4 separate regions of the Homo sapiens genome follow, and all the other regions are linked to region 3. Evidence: promoter capture Hi-C in 16 types of primary human blood cells and fetal thymus (Javierre and others, 2016). All regions are on one chromosome and are shown on one strand. The core of a region is centred on a gene start or on the middle of the fragment in contact, and the rest is flanking DNA. Distances in the headings are between cores, read along the strand shown. Region 1 overlaps NPHP4 (nephrocystin 4). Region 2 has its middle 8.4 kb from the start of NPHP4. Region 3 holds the start of C1orf174 (chromosome 1 open reading frame 174). Region 4 overlaps NPHP4 (nephrocystin 4).

Region 1 (6,298 bases), core at 649-3,148, 2.1 Mb before region 3:
AGCAAAATTGGACAGAACTAAAGGGAACTATATTCAGATTCATAATCATGGTTGGAGACTTTTAACTCTTCTTCTCTCAATTATTGAAAAAACAGATAGATCAGAACACTCATAGGGATTTGGAAGCTCTGAAGAATACCGTCAATCACCTTGTCATCTCTTAACGCTACTCCCAAGAAAGCTAGAGTACACATTCTTCCCAAGTGTACCATCAATCACCCTGTCATCTCTTAAACACCACTCCCAACAAAGCTAGAGAACACGTTCTTCCCAAGTTCATATGGAACAGTCACCAAGATAGACCGTATGCTGGGCCATTAAAATGTCCCAATAAGCTTCAAAGGACCCAAATTATAGAGTATGTTTATCGACTACTGTGCTTTTAAGTTAGAAATAAATAATATGAGATCTAGAAAATCCTCAAATAGGAAATTAACATACTGGATCAAAGAAGAATTAATAGGGAAATTAGAAAATAATTTGAACTGAGTAATGGAAGAAAATATACAGATTTATAGGATATAACTAATACAGTTCTTTGAGGGAAATGTATAGCTTTACATGACTATATTAGAAAAGAAGAAGGTATAAAATCAGTGACGTCTGTTTCCTCCTTAACAACCTAAATAAAGGAACAAATTAGATACAAACCTAAATAAAGGAACAAATTAGATACAAAGTAACTAGAAGGAAGGAAATGGTAAATACAGTTATGCATGGTTCCTTGACAGTGCCGACACATTCTGAGAAATGGTGTTAGGTGATTTTGTCATTGTGCAAACATCATAGGATGTACTTACGTAAACCTAGAGGGTAGAGCCTGCCTCACACCTAGGCTCCATGGTATAGCCTGTTGCTTCTAGGCTACAAACCTGTATGGCACATTACTGTACTGAATACCATTGGCAATTGTAACACAACGGTATATCAAACATAGAAAAAACAGTAAAAATATAATATTACAATCTTAAGGGGCCAGTCATATATACAGTCTGTTGCTGATCGAAATGTCATTATGTTACACATGACTGTATATGAGCAGAAATCAATAAAGGACAAATAATAGAGAAAATCAGCAAAGCCAGAAGTTGATTCTCTGAAAAGATTGATAAAATTGATCAAGACAAAAAAAAAAGAAAACACAGACTACCAGTATTAAAATGAAAGAAGCATCATGATAACGTACGCTACAGAGGTTAAAAATACAATGTTGAATTTTATCAGATACTAAAGGAAGAAATAAGACGAATTCTAGACAAACTCAGAAAATAGAGGAGGAGGGAACACTTCCCAGCTCATTTTTTGAGGCCACCATAATTCTGATACCCAGTCAAGGGCACTACAAAAAAAAGTACAGACTTGTATCCCTCATGAATATTAACACAGCAGCCCTGAAAATATTAAGACAGCAAAGCCAGCAATATGTATAAAAGATGGGGTATTAGGATCAAGTGGGGCTTACTGCAGGAATGCAACGTTGTTTTATTTACAAAGATCAATCAAAATACAGTATTTAAAAGAAGATAAATAGAATTCATATAAATTCTATAAATAGAGTTTGGAAATAGATGATGGTTTGGTATAGATAGTCTTATAAGTTTGTATAATTTTAGTTGTTTTGAGAATTGATAGCTTTAGATAATGGCCAAAGCTTGCTTCCCTGTGAAAGGTGTTGGCTGAAGAATATTACATGCTTGTTTTGAATTCAGGGCACTTTATTAATGATTTTAGTATATTTCTTTTACTGTCCCATTTACTTTTTTTGTTTAATTTTACCATGATCATTGCTTATATTTCTTTATTTTGGGATGAGTATTTCAGTTCAGCTTGATATGTATTGGGCACCACGATATGTTAGGAACCGTGCAGATGACACAGAGTTGACTCTGCCCTATACTGTGTCTTCAGGAAGCTCTCAGTGGATTCTTATTTGAATAGACTGGATGTGAAGTAGCATAGAGGTGGTGGGAGGGTGGTTAGGATCTGGCATTCTGGAAAGAAGCCCAAGCCAGCGACGGTTCTGGGAGCCACGGGATCCTGCCTGAGAATGGCCTCCTGAGAGTGCAGGAGAGGAGGAGGAGGAGGTGGCGGTGCTGGGGGAACCCAGGCAGTCCCGGGTGAGGAGGGGCACGTGCAGAAGCTTTGCCTAGGCCCCAGGGACAGAGCAGGGAACAGACTATTTCAGGCTTGTGTCCTCAGAGAGCTCACGTTGTAGATGGGGGCAGCAGACAGTCAACATGGAAAAGCCAGGGGGTTGCTCTGGGGAGAGATGAGGCAGGCTCAGAGGGCAGGTCTGGATGCGGGAGGAGCTGAGGAGGAAGAGAGACTGAGGGGAAGAGGGAGGAGGACAGGGAGGTAGCGTGGTAATGGGAGCTGGGGGCCAGGCCCCGGTGCGTGGTGATGGGAGCTGGGCTTGGAGTCTTCAGACCTGCTCTGCCCACCTTCCCTGTCCTCATGGATAACACCACCTCCCTCCACGTTGCTTCACTTGAGATGCGAGATTCAGTACTGGGCCTGGGAGGGCTGGGCCGACCTAGGCAGCTGGCCCTTCCCACTTTTCTCCCTTCATGACCACGCAGCCACTCCTGCAAAGCAGCAGAGCCCAGCGGTGCCTGCTTCCTGTCACCCTCCCTGCCCCTCCCTGTCTCGCCTCCTCCTAATTGGCCCCTGCTTCCACTCCCGCCCCCACATGGCAGCTGCGGGAATTTTCTTAAATCCCGAACCAGATTGTGTCATTTCTGCTTAGAATCTCTCCCTGGCCTCCCTGCATGATTGGAGTGAGAACCCAGCTTCTCCTCGCGCCGTGAGGCCTGCCTGAACGCTCTTGCGCCTGGCGCTCATTCCTTCTCTCCTCCCTGGCCCAGCCTGCTGCAGTCCGGTGGGCTTTCTGCTTAGAATGTACCTGGGACTGGTTTCCATTTAGGGGTGGTGAGGCCAGCGGATCAGGAGACAACTCAGCTGAGACCCTGTCTGTTACTCAGGGCTCCCAAGACGAGGGGTAGGCCATGTCCCACAGGCCACCTGGGGAAGCGCAGGGTTGGTCAGGAGGCAGGAGGGTGGAAGGGAGGCATGGGCAGAGACTTGATTATGGTTTTGTGGGAGGACTGGGCCAGGGAGGGTGGGCAGCTGGACGGGCTTGCGTTGGCCAAGGAGAGTCATGTCGTGGTCTCTGAGGTGCAGGGATGGCCCGAGGTGTCTGGTCACTGACCCTGAGAGACCATGGCAGAGGGTGGGACTCCTGGGGTGTGTGAGCCAGACAGAGGTAGTGGGGCATGTGGTCTCTGGACGGGTTGGTTTTCATGTCAGACACATTCTGATAGGCCTGCCATTTGCCACCCTAGGAATTAACCGGCTCTGGGGGACAGTCTTATCTCGTCACTGAGGCCCCAGATGCCAGAGCATCAGTAATACAGAAAATTAGAAAATACAGGCCGGGCATGGTGGCTTACCCCTGTAACCCCAGCACTTTGGGAGGCCGAGACGGGCGGGTCACTTGAGGACAGGAGATCAAGACCAGCCTGGCAAAACCCACTCTCTACAAAAAGTACAAAAATTAGCCGGGTGTGGTGGAGTGCACCTGTGGTCCCAGCTACTTGACAGGATGAGGCAGGAGGATTGCTTGAGCCTGGGAGGTGGAGGCTGCAGTGGCCAGACCTCCAGCCTGGGTGACAGACGAGACCCTTTTCTTAAAAACAAAAACAAAACACAGGTACTATAGCTAAATATAGTTCCTGCACTTCTCGCTGGCTCCTGGAGCACGTGTGCTCTCTTCCTCTCAGGACCTTTGAGTTTGCTGCTCCTCCTGCCTGGCTCCCTCTCCCCAAACTCCCTGTGGTTCTTCTCATGCCCCCCTTGTTCTCAGCTCAAGGATCATCTCAGAGAGCCTGCCCTGCCCTGCCCTGCCCCGCCCCACCCACCTCTCTCCCCGTTCTTCACCATGTAAGCCCTGTAAGGGCAGAGATTTTGTCTGTTCCTTGTTGTTTCCCTAGTGCCTGGAAATGTGCCTGGCAGAGAGTCAATGCGCAGAATAGATGTGTAAGTAACGTTTACTAAGTGAATAGGTGAAAGAAAGGTGGAGGACTCTTGTCTCAGGTAAGAACCTGTCACAGAAGAGAAAAGGCTAAAGCAATACTTGCTGTAAGTGGTAAAGCTCCGGGGCAGGGTCCTGCCTGTCTACACTCTGGCTGCCGCTCTGGGCAGGGTCCTGCCTGTCTACACTCTGGCTGCTTTGTTCTGTATTTGTAGCCATGATTTCTCAATTCTCAAAGATCTGCTTTTTGCTTTGCCAATGTCACCCCAAAATCTGGGAAGTTGAGGATTTAGTTTCTGGTTATATCAGGAAGGGCTCATTTGGTTGGAAATGATTAACAAACCCATCCAAAATGATTTACGTGAGAGGCGATTTGTTGACTCACAGCAAATCCACAGCCAGCATAAGCTTCAGGTGTGGCTTGAGCGAGGTCTCAGGTGATGTCCCCTGGACTTGTTCTCTCTCACCTGTTGGCTGCTGGGAGCCCTGGGCCTCATCCTGGCAGGCGCATGTGTCTCCTGTGGTCATGTCCTCTTGTGCGTCCTGGGCTCTGGCTGAGTCAGAAGCCTGTGTCTGTTCCAAGGGACTGCAGTCTTTCGTTGGCCAGGGGAGGGCCAAATGCTTTGGTTTATAACCCCACCAAGACCAGTAGCTGTGGGAGAGAGGTAGCCTCCCAATAAGGAAACCAGCGTGCTGATATCTGAGCGAGGTGGCCCCATATGCACCCACATGGCCTGCCAGTGACCTCCTGGCTCATGGTGCTCAGACTCTTGAGGGTCAATTCCCCGTTGTCTCCTAGGGCGTGCTGGAGGTACTGTCAGAGGTTGAATGCCATCTGCGAGTGTCTTTCTTTGATGTCACCTACCGGCACTTCTTTGGGAGGACGTGGAAAACCACAGTGAAGCCGACGAAGAGACCGCCGTCCAGGATCGTCTTTAATGAGGTGGGCCCTGGTGATGGTGGCAGGGGCTGCTCCAAGGCGGAGGGTGTGTGTGCGGGTGGTCCTGGGTGGCAGCCCAGAGACTGGGGCCTTGCCGAGACCTCACAGCGCGTCTCAGACTTGTGGGTCCAGGCAGCACAGAGCTTAGTCTAGCGGCAAGCGCTTTGTTACCAAACAAAATCTTATGTGGAAGCCAGTTGTCTTAAACAGATGAGAGAGCTCTGCTCTGCTCTGGTTGAAGGGTCAGGGGAATGGGGGTCTTGTCACCTTCAAGGAATCTTGGAGTTCTTGGGAATAAGTTGGGAAATGATTGACCTCATCTATGGCTGCTGCCACTACTGCTCCCTCTCCTCCTCTCCCCTCCCCTCTCCTTCCCCCTCCCCTCCCCCTCCCTTTCCCTTTCACCGTCCCCTTCCTTCCTTTCTTCCCTCCCTCCTGTATAGACAAACTAAGATTTAGTAAAGTGACTTGCCCAGGTAGCAGGTATCAGAGCCTGGACTCACACCTGTGCCTTCTGTCTTGAGACCGGCAGGTGGATGGGCACTGGTTGAGCAGCGTGTTTTCACTCAGGTGGTCTTGCGGCTGGCCACCCTGCGGGCCGGCATGCTCTGTCTCTGTGGTTCACTGCACAGCATACATTCCATTCAGCACCTGCTCTCTGCAGGGCATCATGCTAGGCTCAGGGTGATGATGGCGCTCACCTAACAGAACTGCAGACTGTTTCGGAGACGCACTGAGCAGGTAACAGAGTAATTGCAAGTTGTGTTAAATTCTCAGGAGGAGACCGATAGGAGAACGTGGAGACCAATAGGAGAACGTGGAGACCTGCTTTAGGTGGGTGACGAGGGAGGCCTCTCTGCGAAGCTGCTGATTAAGCTGGGACTTACAGGATGAGAAAGAAACTGACTCCGTGACAAGCAGGGACGAGGCTGCTTCAAGCAGAGCAGGGAGACCCAGGGGTGTTAGGACGAGAGGAGAGCCCAGGTTTGCTGACGGGTGGGGTTGGCAGGGTGGCCCCGTCGTGCCTTCTGGCTGGGTCCTACAGGGTCTTCTTAGGGACGCTGACGTTTGACTCTTAACAGCCGGCGATGTCATGGAGGCCTTTCCCATGCCTGGCTGCTGCTTCACAGCTGAACTCGAGTGGGGGGAGTTTGAGAGGGATGGTGTCTGAGCACGACGGGTGTGCAGCAGGGACAGTGTGGAGGCAACAGAGGTGATGAGAGGGTCTCAGCTGTCTTGGTTTGATCTTAGGTATATAGAAGGAGGCCCCAAGAGGCCTGGTATTGGGACAGTTTGTATGATGAGTAACAGTGGCGGTGACAGTGGCC
Region 2 (5,478 bases), core at 2,087-4,586, 2.1 Mb before region 3:
AGGAAATAATGTTTAAGTGAACTATAGACAAACGGGAGGGTATAATGTGGCCACTCAGTGAGTGCTCCTGGCTGGGGCAGGGCTCGCGCTAAGAGTGGAGAAGGTGGACGGTGCCTGCGTGTCTGCAGGGGCTGAAGGCAGCCGAGCGAGCGAGTGGGGAGGAACCCCTGCTCCACACCACACGGACCCTGCCTCTGACCCCATGACCCTGCTCTGGTGGGGAGGATCTGTGTGTGGGAAGCAGGGAAAGCAAGTTCCAGGGGTGGGATGGGGAATCCCGCAGGAGGCTCCGGCCACCCGGGCTTGTAGCACAGGCTCTGGAGCCCCTGCAGCCAGCAGGGGCCAGGCTGCTGGGGCTGTGCGCTGGCCTCGCCCCCATGTGGTTTCCCTTTACCTGGCACCCTGGTGACTGTGGCTCAGGAGCGAGGCCAAGGGCGAGCGCCCGCCCCGTGAACGGGTCGCCTGGGGCGCAGGATCAGGCGTCTGCTGCGGTCATGTTCTAGCTCTGTCCTCTGGTAGCTGTGTGACCTGAGACAAGGTCTAGGACCTGTTCTCACCCGGGACACAGAGACGGGAGGAGCTGAGGACTAAGAACAAATGTGTGGAGGGGACGAAGCAGGGGGCCAGAGCCAGAGCAAATCTGCAACACAGGGCAGCTGCCAACTCAAAGGACAACAGTGACGGCAGAGTCCTTGACACTGCTGTCAGCGTCGTCCAGAGTCGGGTGAAGCGCCTGCCTCCTCTTCCTGCAGGGGGGCAGCCGCTCTCAGCTGTCCAGCCCCTCCCAGTACCTCCCAGTCCTGGCAGGGCCGTAGCCCTTCAGCTCCCCTGGAAATCCACTCAAGGGACCTTGGCCTTCTCTGCCTGCCACCTGGGAACACCTGATGGGGACGTGCTGGGATGGTTTCTGCAGTTCAAAGGATTTACCTCCACATAATTAAGTGCCTCGTTTGTAAAAACACAAGCTGTGTCCTCATCGGTGGTGTGGGCATCACGTACGGTTCAGGGGCTGGGACAGAGCCCTCAGTACAGATGACAGGCATCAGGGAGTCTGTGGCCATCAGCCACCGATGCCAGCTCAGGCCACAGCTGCCGTGGCAGGCACCTGGCTTTGTCTCAACCTCAGCTGCAGGAGGTGCATCCCCGCCTCCTGCCAGCTCTGGCTGAGTGCCAGGCCCCAGAGGCCACGGCTGTCTCTGGCCTCCCTTGGGCACTGCCTGTTGTTCAGGGTGCTCAGAGCAGGATTGTATCTGGCGGGGAAGACCCCTTGGGGAGGATCCCTTGGTGTCACAGTTGGCCTCCGTTGGGCCAGGAGCCCTCTGGTCCTCCCTGGTTCTGAAGGCTTCTCTCTGCCTGCCACGGCCAGGGGAGATGAAATCAGGGAGCCAGTGCTGGGGACGATGTTTGCTGGCCTGTAGGAAGCTTAGGCTTGGTTCCAAGGCCTCATGACATGGCCGGGGCATTACCAGTCAGGCTGAGCTGGGGGACAGAGGTGATGGGGACAGCAGGCATGTTCTGTCCTCACGAGGCCCACAGTCTAGGCAGGGACAGATGTCAGCAGTCATGACCACTGCAGGGCATGCTTGGAGAGACTACAGGACATCGAGGGGGCTCAGTCAGAGAGCTGCACCATGATCCCGGCTCTGTCAAGGATGAGTCATCTGGCCTCAGTTTCCCTGTCTATAAAATGAGGAGTCTGGGCTGCACAGTGTCAAAGACTCAGAGAACCTAGAGGGGCTTTCTGAGGCCGCTGGCTCCAGGAGCCTAGGACCCAGTCCTACCACCATGTGAGCAACACTGCCCCACACTGGATCATTTCTCTGTGTGTTCCGGGCTGCGTTAGAGACCAGGAATTCCGCCAAGCCTGGGGACAGGTGTTATCCTGTCCCCTCCAGAGCCTGGGGGGAAGCGTCCCCTGACCTGAGGTGCCACCTCTCCTGCTGCTCACACAGACTGCTCTTCAGAGACCCACCCCCATGGGTGTATCACGGGGCTCAGCCAGGCCCTCAGCACCCATACAGCCCAGCAGGTGGCCAGGCCACTCCAACAACCGGTGATCATGATTATCAGGTTGCTAGAGGGTTGGGGAGACCCTCTCCTAGGCATCCCTCCCAGTGGCACCCCCGGAGGCTTAGCCAGAACCTTCCGGCCCTGGGTGAGGCAGAGAATGAGGGCTGGTGGCACAGGCTCTGTGTGTCTGTGTGTGTGTTGGGAGAGTGTGTGTGTGTGTGTGTGTGTGTGTGTGTGTGTGGTGATCACATGCAGCTGGAGCAGCTCAGGGCTCCAAGAGCACCAAGGGCTCAGGGTAGGGCCTGGGGCCTCCAGGTCGCAGAGGGACCCTGTTCAGCTTCCCTCCACCCAGGCCAGATGAATGGCCCAGCTCAGCAGCACAGAGGAAGCAGGAGGCCTCCGTGAAAGATGTTCCGGCCTCCAAGGTCCCTCCTTACCTGCCCTTGTCCCTCTCCCTGCAGTGCCCTGACACCCCATGCTGTCTCTGCGCCTTTGGACCCCACTCTCCCTGCCTGTGAGGCCACAGCCATCCAGTGCTTCCCCCTTTCCTGACGATGTGAGATGGACGCTGTCAATGCTTTGGTGTGATGCTTTGGTGGTGGCCTGAGTGACGCCTTGGTGCCCTGGACCATACACCTCCTCCCGCTCTGATGTTGGCCCTGAGGGCAGCGACCTTATCCTGGCTCCCGATTCATGAGTTAATGAGGAGCAAGTGACATTCCCCAGACCCTGGTCTCACTGTAGCACTGCCCTGGAGAGGGCTGTCTGTGCTGGCGTCACCAGGACCCCCAGGTGCTACTTCAGATTCCAACGGCCTATAGGCTTCATGTAAACAGGCCCCTTTCTCCCAGGGATATCACTGTTTTCTTTTTTTTTTTTTTCTTTTCTGGGAAGCCCCCATTCAGGGTCTGTTGATAACTGTCACTCACACCAGCAGAGCGGCGGGGGGTGGGGTTCACTCCTCACAGGAGCGGGCTCGCCTGCCCCAGTGGCCTCCCCAGACCCATCTTTTGGGATGGAGAGAGAGCATGGCAGCTCCCCGGAGCCTCTGAAGTGCCCCAGCACAGGGTGGCTGATGTCCCCTGGACACCCCCACTGCCTTGTAAGCACGAAGGATGTAAATAAGGAGGCATCCACTACTCCTTCAAGGAGCAAAGCACCCTGTGTCCCTGCGGAACGGGGAGGTTTTGAGTTGGGATTTACAAGTCCTGTTTTGGGCATCCTGTTTCCTTTGTAGGAGCAAAGGGACAACATGGCTCCGGGCCTTGTGTCTGTGACACCTGAATACCTCCTGGTCTGGGTGACTAAAAATACCTGCTACTCATTTCCATGGAAAGGCAATACCCTCTAGGGGGTGCGGGGGGCTGGCTGAGCAGAGGCGGGAGGCGCTGCAGGATCTATCTAGACAGACAGGGCACAGGTAGGGCGTGCAGAGGGCCCAGATGGGGCACAGACAGAGTGCAGGCAGGGTGTGGACGGGGCACAGACAAGGTGCAGACGGGGCACGGACGGCGCAGACAGGGTGCAGAGAGGGTGCAGACAGCAGAGCAGGATATGGATGGGGTGCAGGCAGGGTGCGGACGGGGCACAGACAGGGCGCAGGCGGGATGCGGACGGGGCACAGACAGGGCACAGACGACACAGACAGGGTGCGGAGAGGGCGCAGATGGCGCAGGCAGGGTACGGATGGGGCGCACATGGGGTACAGACAGGGCGCAGGCAGGGTGCAGACACGGTGCAGATGGGGTACAATCAGGGCACAGGCAGGTGACAGACTCTGTATGGTCAGGAACAGGGTGGCGAGGACTGGCTCCTGTACTGACCCCTGGCCTCCTCTGCCGTGGGCAAGCACTCGGGCCATCAGTACCCCTGAACCAAACCACATTCCAAGAGGCCTGGACACTAACAAGGCGCCCTGCCACACACGGGAGGATGAAAGCACATCTCAGATTTGAAGCTCACAAAAGTGCAGCAGGTCATTCCAGTAGAATGTGGGCTTCACATGTTCCCAAGAATTACAGAAACCCCCGCAAAGCCCTTCTCGCCGGAGCTTTCAACCATCACAAACAGCTTCCTCGTGTGCTTCCTTAAGAAGTAGAGGTGGGCAGGTTCACTGACAGACTGAAACGGCTAGGGCTAGGGAGTGTTTCTCAAAGCATGTTCTTGGAACCCCTGATCTGAGTCACCAGGGACTGGTGGCCAAGGAGCTTGCTAAGCTGCACCAGGACCCCTGAGGGCTGGGCAGGTGCCACACCCTACAAGCCTGCTGGGCACACCGATATCTCAGGACCCTCGGCCCACCCAGGCCCCAAGACTCCACAATTCTTACACAGAACGTAAAGCACTACGCAGCCAACCTATGCAGGGCAACCAACAAGGCTAAGCCCCAGCCCGCAGTTCACGGGTGTCCCCAGAAATGCCCCCCATTAAGGCAGGAAATGGAAGAATGCGCCGTTGAAATCGTCTCTAAAGGGGCGGACGAAAGAGGGTGCTGCTGGCAGTTGCGGTTAAGCAGCAAAGCGGCTTCGTCTACGCCCGCCAGCCCCGGAGCCACCCTGTGCCCTCACCTTCCTTTTCCTCCTTTCACGGTCAAATCTCTCCAGAGCCATTGGCGGCAAAGTCCAAAGGTCACCAGGGTGGGACTCTGGCTTGGGGTCCTGGCTCCTGCGCCTAGTAGCTTGGAGGCCTTAGGGAAGCCACTTTGACTTTCAGTGTTTCTGCCTCAGTCAGATGGGTATAAGTTGGTTGGCGAGTGCTTGGAAGCTGGTGGTGCTGAATCTGGGGTCCTGCGCCCCCTCGCTGCTCCTGGGAGCCCAGCTCTGCTTCCCCTCTCAACAGAGGCTGCCTCCTTGGCAGCAGCTGGCCCACCGGATGCAGCAGATACCTGCCTCATCCTCTATTTTCCTCTCCTCCCCGGGCTCTGGAAGAATCCAGGGTTCCCTACTGTCTGTCTTGACCTTCATCTTCCCTCTCAAACCCGTACCCTTGGCGACCCTTGGCACTACCCCCAGGTGACACTGTCAGGGCTGTGACCAGTAGGTAGGTGGCAGTCACCTCCAGGTCCCACCTCTCCTGTGAACCCCAGCCCTACCTTCTCAATGTCAGTGGGCACTGCTGTCCAAGACACAGACCTCGAAACCCAAGGTCAACCGAGCCCAGTCCTCCCCATCCAGAGGCCCCGATTCTGGCTCTGCCTCTTTCAGTCTGTGCAGCCCAGGTGGACCCAGCCAGAAAAGCTTGGGGGGCTCCAGGGCTCTCCTCTTCCCTCCCTCCCCATCACTGTCCAGCCCATGGTGGCCTTGGCCCTGATGCCCTCCCCTAGTTATCCTATTCACCCATATTCATGCCCTAGCCTGTGACCGCACTGGGCCTCTGGCCATCATCCAGCCTGCCTGGTCCTCCCTCTGTGACCTTGCCCATGCAGAGCCCTTTTCCAGACCATCCTTTCCTAGCTCTGCCTATCACAAC
Region 3 (5,877 bases), core at 1,189-3,688:
AAGGAGGCATCAGCTGCATGTCTGGGCTTTGAGAGAGTCATACCGTAAGAGAAGGCACACTGATGCTTTTGGAAGAGATTATGAATCACACCCTGCCTTGGAACAGTGCACAGAGGGACCCTGAGCAGGCCATGAAGCCACAATGCAATGCAGTTCACTTTTCAACCTTTGTAGTTTAAGTGGAAAACCTAATGCTTCTGACAAAACTGCCTGATTTAAATGTTCTCACTTGAAAAAAAAAATAATGATTTAAAAAGGAAATAAGACTCCCATTTATTTGCAAAGCACAGTACGGGCTGCTGGGTGCACCCTGCGCCCGAGCACCTGGGAGCCAGCCCTGGACTGCGCAGCCACCTGCGGGCGGAGAGGGGAGGGGCCAGGTGTCCTCGGCCTCTGATGTGGCTTCCACCCTGCGCCCTTTTCTGAAGACACACATCCTAGAGCCCAGAGAACTTGAGGGCTGGAGGGTTTAAGGCAAGGCTGGATTTCATTTCTATGTTGAAATTCTTAAGAACAGAACAGTGTGCCGAGCGCGGTGGCTCACGCCTGTAATCCCAGCATTTTGGGAGGCCGCAGCAGGCGGACCACGAGGTCAGGAGATCGAGATCATCCTAGCTAACACGGTGAAACCCCGTCTCTACTAAAAATACAAAAAAATTAGCCGGGTGTGGTGGCGGGAGCCTGTAGTCCCAGCTACTCGGGAGGCTGAGGCAGGAGAATGGCGTGAACCCGGGAGGCAGAGCTTGCAGTGAGCCGAGATTGCGTCACTCCACTCCAGCCTGGGCGACATAGCGAGACTCCCGTCAAAAAAAAAAAAGAAAAGAAAAGAACAGTGGGCCTGGCACGGTGGCTCACGCCTGTAATCCCAGCACTTTGGGAGGCCAAGGTGGGCGGATTATTTGAGGTCAGGAGTTCGAGACCAGCCTGACCAACATGATGAAACCCCATCTCTACTAAAAATACAAAAATTAGCCAGGTGTGGTGGCGCCTGCCTGTAATCCCAGCTACTCAGGAGGCTGAGGCAGGAGAATGGCTTGAGCCCATGAGGCGGAGGTTGCAGTGAGCTGAGATCGCGCCACTGCACTCCAGCCTGGGTGACAGAGCGAGACTCCGTCTCAAAAAACAAACAAACAAACAAAAAAACCCACAACAGAACAGTGGTCCTCAGCTTTACAAACACCTCCCTCAGCGGCGGCCAAAGAGGACGCATCACAGCAGCCCAGGCCTGCTAGGGGCGTGTTTGCTGGAGGAGGCGTGGCCGCCGTGTGTCCATCCAGACCTGATAGGGCGCGGCCATTGGAGGAGGCGTGGCCGCTGCGGGTCCACCCAGGCCTGCTAGGGGCGTGGCCATTGGAAAAGGCGTGGCCCCTGCGAGTCCACGTTGGCCCCGGAGAGTAACGGGACGGCGGAGGGGTCATTTCCCGCCTTGCACGTAACGGGGGACGAAAACCGGCCCCCAGCCCGACGCCGGACCCTGGCCTCCTGGGCCCACCGACGGCCTCCACTAAGGCCCCCTCCCGCCCGCAACGTGGGGGACAGCTGAGGCCACTTCCCGGGCGGGCCACCCCAACCCAAAGCGGCATGTCGCGGGGCAGCACAGCCTGCGACAAGCGCGCAAAGCTCCCCAGCGGGACCGCAGCACGGGCAGGCCTGGGAGTCCCTCGCGCTGCTCAAGGCCGCTAACCGGCACTCAGAAACCAGCGCTCTGCGGCACTGGAGAAAGCACTTCCCGCCCTCCTGCAGGCTGTTAGCCAGGGGATGCAAGGGGAGGGGCCCCTCACGGACGTCCCGCCCGCCCCTCTCAAACATGGCGGCCACAGGCGCACCAAAGGAAGAGCCCCTCACAAACATGGCCGTCCGCCCCTCTCATACATGGCGCCAAAGAGGCTTCAAGGGAAGCGCCCCTCACGAACATGGTTGCCTGCCCCTCTCAAACATAGCGGCCACAGGCGCACCAAGAGAAGCGCCCCTTACAAACATGGCCGTCTGCCCCTCTCAAACATGGTGGCCAAAGAGGCTTCAAGGGAAGAGCCCCTCAAGAACATGGTTGCTCCCCCCTCAAGAACATAGTTGCCCACCTCGCTCAAACATGGCGGCCACAGGTGCACCAAGGGAAGCGCCGTTCACGAACATGGCCGTCTGCCCCTTTCAAATATGGCGAACACAGAAGCTACAAAAAAAGCACCCCCCGCAAACATAATCTCTCAGGCCTGCCACGGGCGTGGGAAACATAGCGGCTACAGGGGTGCCAAGGGACGCGCCCTCATGAACATGGCCGGCCACAGGCCGACTTCCTGCTCCAGTGTCCCACCACTGGCCCAAGGCCTGTGACCTTCGCCCGCCGCTTACGAAAGAGCCAACACGGGGGGGGGGGGGGGGGGAATCACATGACGAGGGTGCTGCACTGTGATTGGCTGTGCTGACGTCGGACGCCGCCGCGGCGCGCTCTGCAGACTCCGGGTCGCCGCTCCGCCGGGACGCGTTGGCCGGGGCGCGCGGTGCTTGGCTGCGGTGCTCACACTCATGAGGAGCCGGAAGGTGAGGGCTGGGTCCCGGCAGCAGCTGCGCCGGGCAGGGCGGGGACTCTGGGTCACCTGCTGTCTGGAGAACCGGGGCGGGGTCACGGGGTGCCTGTGGCCTAGGAGCGGCCTCCGCTTGGGCCTCGCCCCCGGCAGTAGTTGGGGGGCTCCAGGCCACGCTCCCGGGAGAAGGAGGGCTGCCAGGTCACGCCCCTGTGAAAAGGGGGCTCCGGGCCACGCCCTCGGAAGAAGTGGAGCTCACAGGTCACGTCCCCGGGAGAAGGGGGCTCCCAGGTTACCCACCCCCGCAGAATGGGGCCTCTGGGCCACACCCCCGAGAGAAGGGGAGCTCCCAGGCCATGCCCGCGGGAGAAGGGGGGCTCCGGTCCACGCCCTCGGGAGAAGTGGAGCTCACAGTTCACGTCCTGGGCAACAGGGGGCTCCCAGGTCACGCCCCCTTGAAGGGAGGTTTCGGGCCACTTTCCTAGGAAGGTGGGGCACCCTCTCCAGAACTGGTTTCAACTCCTGGTAGTGCTAGATGCTGCAGAGCTGAGTTTGTGCCCCTCAACTGCTGCCACTCCAATGGACGTCACACAGCAAGTGACCTCAGCTTGGCCCCATCTACTGAATGTGCTAAAAGTGGGGTGATGAGGGATCCACCAAGAGGGTGGTGAGGATTGAAGGGGGGTGCCAGTGTCTGGCAAGGGGCAAGTGCTCATTGCGTGGGTGTAACAGTTAAGGCGAAGGACCCTTTTCACAGTGGACCCGGCGCGGGTCCCGGTCCACTTGGGAGGCTCTGAGCTGCATGGAGGCTCTCCTGGTTTGTTCAAATGGAGTGGCCACTTGTGAATTCCAACTCCTTTTACTATTTTTATCTTTGAACCAAAACTTGTCTCCTGTAGGCACATATACTTGGATCTTTTTTAAAATGCAGTCTGGTAGTTTCTGCCTTTTGATTGAATTGTTTAGCCCATGCACATTTAATATTATTGATACACTGTAGTTAGGTTTACATTTGCCATTTTACTTTTTCTTTTCTTTATACAAGTCTGTCTTTTTCTTCCCCTGTTCCTTCTTTAAGTGGATTAAAGTGAATATTTCCTAATGTAGCATTTTAATTTAATGATTTTTTTTCCACAACTTTTTTGGGTTTTTTCCAGTGCTTTATGTTTTACCGTATACAGCTTAATCTTCATATTCTCCATATACATCTTAAGCTTCAGATTTGTACTAGGTTAATTCCAAGTGATACAGAAATGTTACTCTTATATGGTTATTTTTGTGGTATTTTGTTATATGTATTACATCTGATAATGTTACAAACTCAACAGTACTGTGTTATCATTATTACTTTCTGTCTGTGGTCATTTCCTTAGCCAGCAGGGGTTTGCTTTCACCCACTTTGTTTTGTTATTGGCAAATATAGTACATGTCTGTATATATTATACACATATTACTGTATACAATTGCTTTTTAAATTAAGAGAAGGAGGTAGAGGAATAGGCATTTAAACTATATAAGAACATAATTACCTTTACTGGTGCTGTTTTTGTGTGTGTGTGGTTTTGAATTACTGTCTGGGGTCACTTGCTTTCAGCCTGATGAACTTCTTTTAGTGTTTCTTGTAAAGTGAGTTTTGTTGTTGTTGTTGTTGTTGTTGTTGTTGTTGTTGTTTTTGCTTTGAGACCAGAGTCTCACTCTGTTGCCCAGGCTGGAGTGCAGAGGTGTGATCTCGGCCCACTGCAACCTCTGCCTCCCGGGTTCAAGTGATTCTCACCTCAGCCTCTGGAATGGCTGGGATTACAGGAGGCTGCCACTACGCCCGGCTAATTTTTGTGTTTTTACTGGAGACAGGTTTTCACCATGTTGGCGAGGCTGGTCTAAAACTCCTGACCTCAGGTGATCACTGCCTCAGCCTCCCAAAGTGGTGGGATTACAGGCATGAGCCACCATGCCCAGCCCATTTTTGAAGTATAGCTTTGCTGGATATAGGATTCTTGGTTGACAAGTTTATTTGAGCATGTTGAATATGTTTGAATATTCTCCATTGTTTCAGTCAGTTCATTTATTGAGGTTCCCTTCTAAGTGGCTTTCTTCTTGGGGCTTTCAAGGTTTTGTTCTCTTTCAAGATTTTGCCTTTGATCTTTGTATTTTTACAGTGATGTGTCTGTGGATCTCTTTGCATGTATCCTATTTGGAGTTCTGTTCATTAAGATTCCTGGATATGGGGCCAGGCACGGTGGCTCACGCCTGTAATCCCAGCACTTTGGGAGGCTGAGGCAGGCGGATCACAAGGTCAGGAGATTGATACCATCCTGGCTAACACAGTGAAACCCTATCTCTACTAAAAATACAAAAAATTAGCGGGGCGTGGTGGCGGGCGCCTGTAGTTCCAGCTACTTGGGAGGCTGAGGCGGGAGAATGGCATGAACCTGGGGGGCGGAGCTTGCAGTGAGCCAAGATTATGCCACTGTACTCCAGCCTGGGCGATAGAGTGAGACTCCGTCTCAAAAAAAAAAGATTCCTGGATATATAGGTTAATGTTTTTCTGTAAATTTGAGAAGTTCTCAGCCATTATTTCTTCAAATATTTTTTCTGCTCCTTTCTCTCTGCATTCCTGGTGGTTCTTATTTTGTGTATGTTAGTGCACTTAATGATGTCCAGCATTTCTCTGCAGCTTGCTTTATTTTTCTTCGTTCTTTTTTTCTCTGTGTTCTTCAGCATGCATAATCTATCGATCTGTCTTCAAGTTTGCTTATCCTGCCAGTTCAGTTCTACTATTAAGCCCTTCTAGTGAATTTTGTTATTTCAGGTTTTGTACTTTTCTACTCCAGAATTTCCATTTGGTTTTTAAGTAATTTATCTTTATTGATAGTCTCTTTGATGCAGCATTATCTTATGTTTCTTCTTTATTCATGATCTTGATATTGTTTATCATGGCTACCTTGGTCCTTTATATATGTATAAATCCAACATCTGGTCACTCTCACAGACAGCTTCTGTGGCCTGCTTTTATTCCAGTGTATGAGCCTACTTTTCTTTTTCTTTGAGTGCTTCATAATTTTTTGTTGGAATTATGCCTTCATAATTTTTTTGACATTTTAGATAATACATTTTAGCAATTCTGGGTACTGTCCCCAACCCTGGGGCTTGTCATTGTTAATATGCTTATTTGTTTAGCAACTGGGTAGATTGTTTTGATAAAGTATATTTCCCCTGCCACAGTGTTCAGCCTGTGATGTTGCTGGTGGGGGGTGGCACCCAGCCACTCTGGATGACAGTGGTTTTAGTGAGGTCCTTTTCCTCTTTCCCTGACCACATCCAGCTGTTGAACTTCGCTAATGCCAGGTTATTGTGC
Region 4 (5,688 bases), core at 1,496-3,995, 2.0 Mb before region 3:
CTGCTGGCGGCGGCGGGGCTGTCCCCTCCTACCCTGTCTGTGCAGCCTGTCCCTGATGTTCTGACTCCCAGTGCGGGCTTTTAGTGGGGCTGCTGCTTGCAACCCCTATGCTGCTGTATGGGGCGTCTCCACATCTCCCTGGCAGCTGCATCTCATGGTGGCAACTCTCAGGACTGGACGGCCTTTGCTTTTTCTGAGAGACATCGAGGTGTGGTCCTCACCCTCTTTGCTCTCCCAGACTAACTCCACCAGTAGCGGTGCCTGGCAGCTATTGGTGTCCCCTGGCCCTGTCGGCCAAGCAGCCGATGCTGGTGGAGACAGTGGCACTGCTGAGAACCACAAGCTGCTGGCAGTTGCACGTCCGACCGCACAGATCCCCGTGGCGCTGGAACTTCCTGAGTGGGAGGAGAGGCGCCTTCCCGCTGGGCCGTTGCCCGCCAGCGGTCTGAGCTGAGCTCCTGCTTGGCTGCCGTTCTGGAGTCCCGAGACACCCGTGGCGCTCACCTGTGGCTCCAAGGCTGGCCTTAGCTATGTGATTTGCAGTGAGGTCAGATGTGGCTTGTTCCTGCTGATGACTTTGTCTGCCAGCATCATCCTGGAAATTGACTTTCTAGAAAAGTTGACTAATTCAGTATCCATGGCTGTCTCCAAGGAAGCAGCTTTAGTGTGTCATCTGCAGTGGGAAACTGGATCAGGAGTGAAGAATACTGGATTCACCTAAAGGCGCAAGTCTGTGGACGGCCTCCCAGGCTTCCCTGCTGGCCCAACCTGGCATTTTCCCTGGAGCAGTTTCCACGTGACCCCGAGTGGTCACGATACCGTATAGGGTCTGAGGGAAGCTGGGTAGGCCCCAAAGATCTCCTCTGCTCCCTGAAGATGCTGCCAGGGTCCCCTGGGGATGCTTCATGCACCCCGCCCCCCATTCATTCCTCAGTGCCTCTTCATACATTGGGGCCTCTCTGCCAGCACCTGGTGTGGGCCAGCCATCATTGCTGACAGTGAATGTCTCAGGTGCTGGCTGTGTGTACTGGAGTTAGAGTCCGGGTTTGAGATCTGTGTCTTCAGTAGTGCGTGGGCCCCCAGCCCTCCGCATCAGTGTTTTAAGCCGCACTCATTTCCAAATATCTGCAGTATTTATAGAAGGCTCACCGTGTGCCAGGTACTATGCCAAACCCTAGCCAGGATTGTCATTTAATTCTCCTAACAGTCCTGCAGTTTAGGTACTATTATTACCCCCATTTTACAGGTGAGGAGACTGAGGCAAAAAGAGGTTAGCTGACTTGCCTGAGGCTACACAGTAATGCCACATTGGTGCGGGCACTCCACGGTAATGCCACGTTGGCACGGGCACTCTATCCACAGCTGTCTCCAGAGCCCGCGCTGGCCATCAAGATGGTCATTGCCTTAACAGGGAGGTTTGTTCGATAGGAACGCAGGCGGCTAGAACTGGCAGGGCCTTGGAGGTGCTCAGTCCAGTGCTGGCAAGGGACAGAGAGGCAGAGGCCAGGCCGCCCCTGTAGCTTGAGATGCTTTCTCCTTTCTTGCTTGTTTTCCTTGTTAATAATATTCTTATTCAGATATTATGATCTGGGGGAGATCATGGAATCACCTCTCTGTCATTAAATAAAGGAACTTGAGAAGCGGTCCCAGGTTCCAGAGCTGCCCTGGCCAGGAGGCTGCAGGCATCACTCCCTTCCGTGGCTGGATCCAGGGCTACCCCGTTCCCCGGTGTGGCCAGTGCATGTTGGGAGCTTTGTGGACGGACTGGCAAGCTTCTGAGCCCCTCACCTGTGCTCTCTTTCCTTCCAGTTGTCAATTTCCCAGCTGGCGGCCTCCCCGCGGTCCCCGACTCAGCACTGCTTGGCCAGGCCTACTTCACAGCTACCCCATGGCTCTCAGGCCTCCCCGGCCCAGGCAGTAAGTGCCGCCCACCTGCCGCCTTGCCTTCCACCAAGGAATGGCTCCACAGCTCCTCATTTTGGGTTTTTGCACTGTGCCTGTCCTTAGTTAGGTGGCAGAGACCTTGGCGGGTTACCTGGGATGTGGGTGGGAGTGGGGCATTGCTTACTCTGAGGCCTCAGACAGTTGTCACCATTCTGTCTTGGAGACCAAAGAAGAATGTGGCCCATGAGTTCTTCATACCACAGCGCTTGACTCAGATTGTGCTCTACCCATGAAAACAAAGTTAAGCTACCCCTAGGTCTCTACGTGAAAGTAAAAGGAAGGTGTGGCTATATCTATAGACAGGCTGAGACAGGCACCCAGCACCCCAGGACCCTCCTTGCTATCAGCAGCTAAAGGAGGTGAGTGGAGCCCGCCATCCTGGCTTCAGGGTGTGCTCCTGGCTAAGACTGGCATTGCCACTGGCCTTGGGGAATTCCTATGGAGTTTGGTTTCCAAAGTCGGCTGGTTCACCTGCAAACTGCATCTTTGGTCTTAACTGGAATTATGTTGAGGAAAAATAGTTTCTTTTAATTCCTTGTTTGAAAACACTCCTAGCACCATGAGTCTCTGCTGCTTTATCTAAAGCATCTCTGGGGCTCATGTGTTTGTGAAGAGCTTGCCTAGCTTTTTATTATTGGCGCATGAGACATGGTGTGAGGGTGACCTGGTTTCCTCTGGGCTGAAACAGAAAGCTTGGGAATGAAGCTTGAGAGAGCACATTCCCAACTCCCAAGCCAGCTCCTCTCTGAGAGGCCTGCCTCGGCCTTGGAGGGGAGTGGAGGTGGAATACGAGTGAATGACAAGAAGTTTCAGGGGCTGTGGGGACAAGAGACTGTCCAAACACGCCAGCCAGGGGCTCGGTGCCACAGTTTATCTTGGAGTATTGAGGAAGCTTCATCTTTCTGTTCTATAAACATGCTTTGATATGAATTTACCATCTCAGGTGTCAGGTATCTCCCACGGTCCTGACCTGCTCATAAAATTAGGATTCCCTCCTCACCGCTTCTCAACTCACACATTGGATTGCCACGTGAAATATAGGATGCCCAGTTAAATTTGAACCTCAGGTACACAACAAATAATTTTTTAGTGTAAGTATATCCCAAATATCGTAGGGACCATACTTATACTAAAATCATTTGTTGTTTACCTGAAATTCAAGTGTAATTGAACCTTTTGTATTTGCTAGAGCTGGCAACCCTCCAGAGGCAATTAATCGATGAATCCCCTTAGATCTGAGCACCGTTGGTTGTTACGGGTTGGGGTCCTTGGTGGCCTCACTTGGAAGCCCTCGTTTTGTTCAGCAGGAGTTCCCGTTGGAGGCCGGTATCTCCCACCTGGAAGCCGACCTGAGCCAGACCTCCCTGGTCCTGGAAACATCCATTGCCGAACAGTTACAGGAGCTGCCGTTCACGCCTTTGCATGCCCCTATTGTTGTGGGAACCCAGACCAGGAGGTGAGGTGTGGGTCTGGGTGGGATGGAACCAGTCACGTGCTGTGCCGTCAGACTGTTGGACCTTGTGAACCCCAGGGTTTCCACAGGGAGGTGCATCAATGGGTCCCCCCTTTCCCGGGAGGCTACCTGAGGAGTCTCTGTGTCTCAGCTCTGCAGGGCAGCCCTCGAGAGCCTCCATGGTGCTCCTGCAGTCCTCCGGCTTTCCCGAGATTCTGGATGCCAATAAACAGCCAGCCGAGGCTGTCAGCGCTACAGAACCTGTGACGTTTAACCCTCAGAAGGAAGAATCAGATTGTCTACAAAGCAACGAGATGGTGCTACAGTTTCTTGCCTTTAGCAGGTAAATCCTTGAATATTCTGTTACTCATCTGGCTTTCACATTTCCTGTGTTGAAGAGAAACTTCGCTGAGGTTCTGACCTGGCAGAACTGTCTGTGCTGAGGTCTTAGTAGATTCGGGAGTGCCATCTGTTTTTATCTTCTCTTGGCTAGGACCCACCCACAGCATGCTAAATGCTGTGAAAGCTGCTTTACCCCATCTTTTGTGGTCCTTCATTAAAATGTGGACGGTGGGTTGTCCAGGTCTTAGATCTTAGTGTAGCTCCAAAGGCAGCTTCTCTAGCCGGGAGTGTCCTTACACTCGAGAATGCTGCTGTCTGGCCGGCTTGCTGAGAGCACAGCAAAGCGGTTGCATTGGTGACCACGGCAGCCTCTTTACTGTTCCCCAGCGACTAAGGTGCCTGGACCATCCCCTATGCAAACACACATTAGACCCCTCAGGTTCTGTGCCATGGATACTCAGTTAACCCAGAGCTGTTGTTGGATTCAGAGTGGCCCAGGACTGCCGAGGAACATCATGGCCAAAGACTGTGTATTTCACCTTCCAGTTCTACCGCTTCCCACCCGCAACGACGCCACGACTGCAGCTGGTCCAGCTGGATGAGGCCGGCCAGCCCAGCTCTGGCGCCCTGACCCACATCCTCGTGCCTGTGAGCAGAGATGGCACCTTTGATGCTGGTGAGTACTCATGTGCATGGCAAAGGCAAGACATTCTGTACTGAGTTGTGTGTGTAAATTGTCAGTGTTATTAAATAAGTGGTACTATGAAAAGTTTAAAACATATGCAACATTAGAATCATACGGTGACCAGTGCAGCAAACACTTAGCCCCAGCAGCTCTCAGCTGCCTCCCAACCCAGCGTCCTCCCCCAAGCCAGGGTTATTTTGAAGCAAATCCCAGACATTATATAATTTCATGTATGAATATTTCCTTATGTATATCTAAAAAATTAGGAATTCTCATTTGAAAAACATAAACTTAAGGGGTATAGCCCATCTAAAATAATAACTCCTAATATCATCAAATATCTAGCCAATGTTAAAATTTTGCTAGTAACCTCATAACATTTTTTTAAGTTTGTCCAGAAATAAGGTCCATACTGGTCATGGAGCAGTGTGACTCTTCAGTCTCTGTCTGCAGTTGCTGCCACCGTACCTGTCTCTGTTGTTTCTTTTTTATGTATTTATTGAAGAAGCCACATTGTACTGTAGAGCGTCCACCCCACAGTCTGGATTCTGTTTTTGTATCCTGGTGGTAACATAAAGGTGTTGTTCTGTCCCCTCTTTAGCTGTAAATTGGGAGTTAGATCTAGATGCATGATTAGATGCTTTTTTTTGTTTTTGGCAAGAGTTCTTTGTAGCAGGTGACGTTTGCGCCACCTCCTGCACCTCCGCTGCGCCCTTGGCGTCTGCTTGCTTCTCTTTGTGTTGCGTCAGCAGCCATTGTGCCCACCGCTGTGTCATTTGTGCAGAGGTGACGTTCTGCTTCTAGAACACCTCCCTTGTTTGTTAGCTGGGATGCTTCCAAAACCAGAAACTTCCTGGCATCAACTTTTTGCTTACCTTGAGGTGCAGTTTGTATAGGAAAGGCTGGATAATACTTGATTCTTCCCTTTATTTGCCAATTTCTGAAGTAATTACATGATTCCCTGGCATCCTTCAAGGATGGGGACTAATGACTTTTTTTTTCTTCGGGTATCATTGTAAACGAATAGATTGAAGCTACATTGAATAGAAACACACCTGACATGTTGATATTTTTATTGATGGTCAGTTTCCCCATCTTGGTCAGTGACTCAGCTCATAAGGGACCCAGCTGGGGTCTGAAACACTGCCGCCTCTCGAGGTAGAAAGTGGCAGATGGGAAAAGTGATGTTAAAATGCTGACCTCAAATGAAGTAGCCTAACAGTGGCACCTGACAGCAGAGACACAAAGCAAATGCAGCGCTAGG

Evidence for each region. Contacts are between HindIII fragments. The CHiCAGO score rates a contact against its expected background, and 5 or more counts as called.
Region 1: a contact is called between a fragment that was not itself captured here and the fragment with the promoter of C1orf174 in region 3, in 3 of 17 cell types (naive CD4 T cells, endothelial precursors and naive CD8 T cells). The highest score is 8.7, in naive CD4 T cells.
Region 2: a fragment that was not itself captured here is called in contact with the fragment with the promoter of C1orf174 in region 3 in 2 of 17 cell types (naive CD8 T cells and activated CD4 T cells); the score reaches 5.3 in naive CD8 T cells.
Region 4: a contact is called between a fragment that was not itself captured here and the fragment with the promoter of C1orf174 in region 3, in 1 of 17 cell types (total CD4 T cells). The highest score is 6.2, in total CD4 T cells.

Annotation. Positions count from the first base shown.
Region 1 is chr1:5,976,945-5,983,242 of GRCh38, reverse strand. It overlaps NPHP4 (nephrocystin 4), which reads left to right. Exons shown (of 30, transcript NM_015102.5): 3 at 4,830-4,973. Among named protein-coding and RNA genes, the nearest start is that of NPHP4, 12 kb to the left of the region's middle. The HindIII fragment of the contact is 489 bases long and covers 1,654-2,142 here.
Region 2 is chr1:5,998,070-6,003,547 of GRCh38, reverse strand. It overlaps a transcript of KCNAB2 not described here. Among named protein-coding and RNA genes, the nearest start is that of NPHP4, 8.4 kb to the right of the region's middle. RefSeq lists enhancers at 1-704, 2,848-3,562, 3,563-4,277. The HindIII fragment of the contact is 3,824 bases long and covers 1,425-5,248 here.
Region 3 is chr1:3,896,833-3,902,709 of GRCh38, reverse strand. It overlaps C1orf174 (chromosome 1 open reading frame 174), which reads left to right and starts at 2,438. Exons shown (of 4, transcript NM_207356.3): 1 at 2,438-2,538. The coding sequence starts at 2,524. It overlaps LINC01134 (long intergenic non-protein coding RNA 1134), which reads right to left and starts at 2,306. Exons shown (of 4, transcript NR_024455.1): 1 at 2,079-2,306. RefSeq lists silencers at 1,358-1,537, 2,618-2,687 and enhancers at 1,738-1,997, 1,637-2,206, 2,207-2,775, 2,776-3,346. The HindIII fragment of the contact is 4,148 bases long and covers 1-3,738 here.
Region 4 is chr1:5,903,344-5,909,031 of GRCh38, reverse strand. It overlaps NPHP4 (nephrocystin 4), which reads left to right. Exons shown (of 30, transcript NM_015102.5): 13 at 1,810-1,917; 14 at 3,249-3,400; 15 at 3,549-3,740; 16 at 4,228-4,415. Among named protein-coding and RNA genes, the nearest start is that of MIR4689, 43 kb to the right of the region's middle. RefSeq lists an enhancer at 1-319. The HindIII fragment of the contact is 187 bases long and covers 2,652-2,838 here.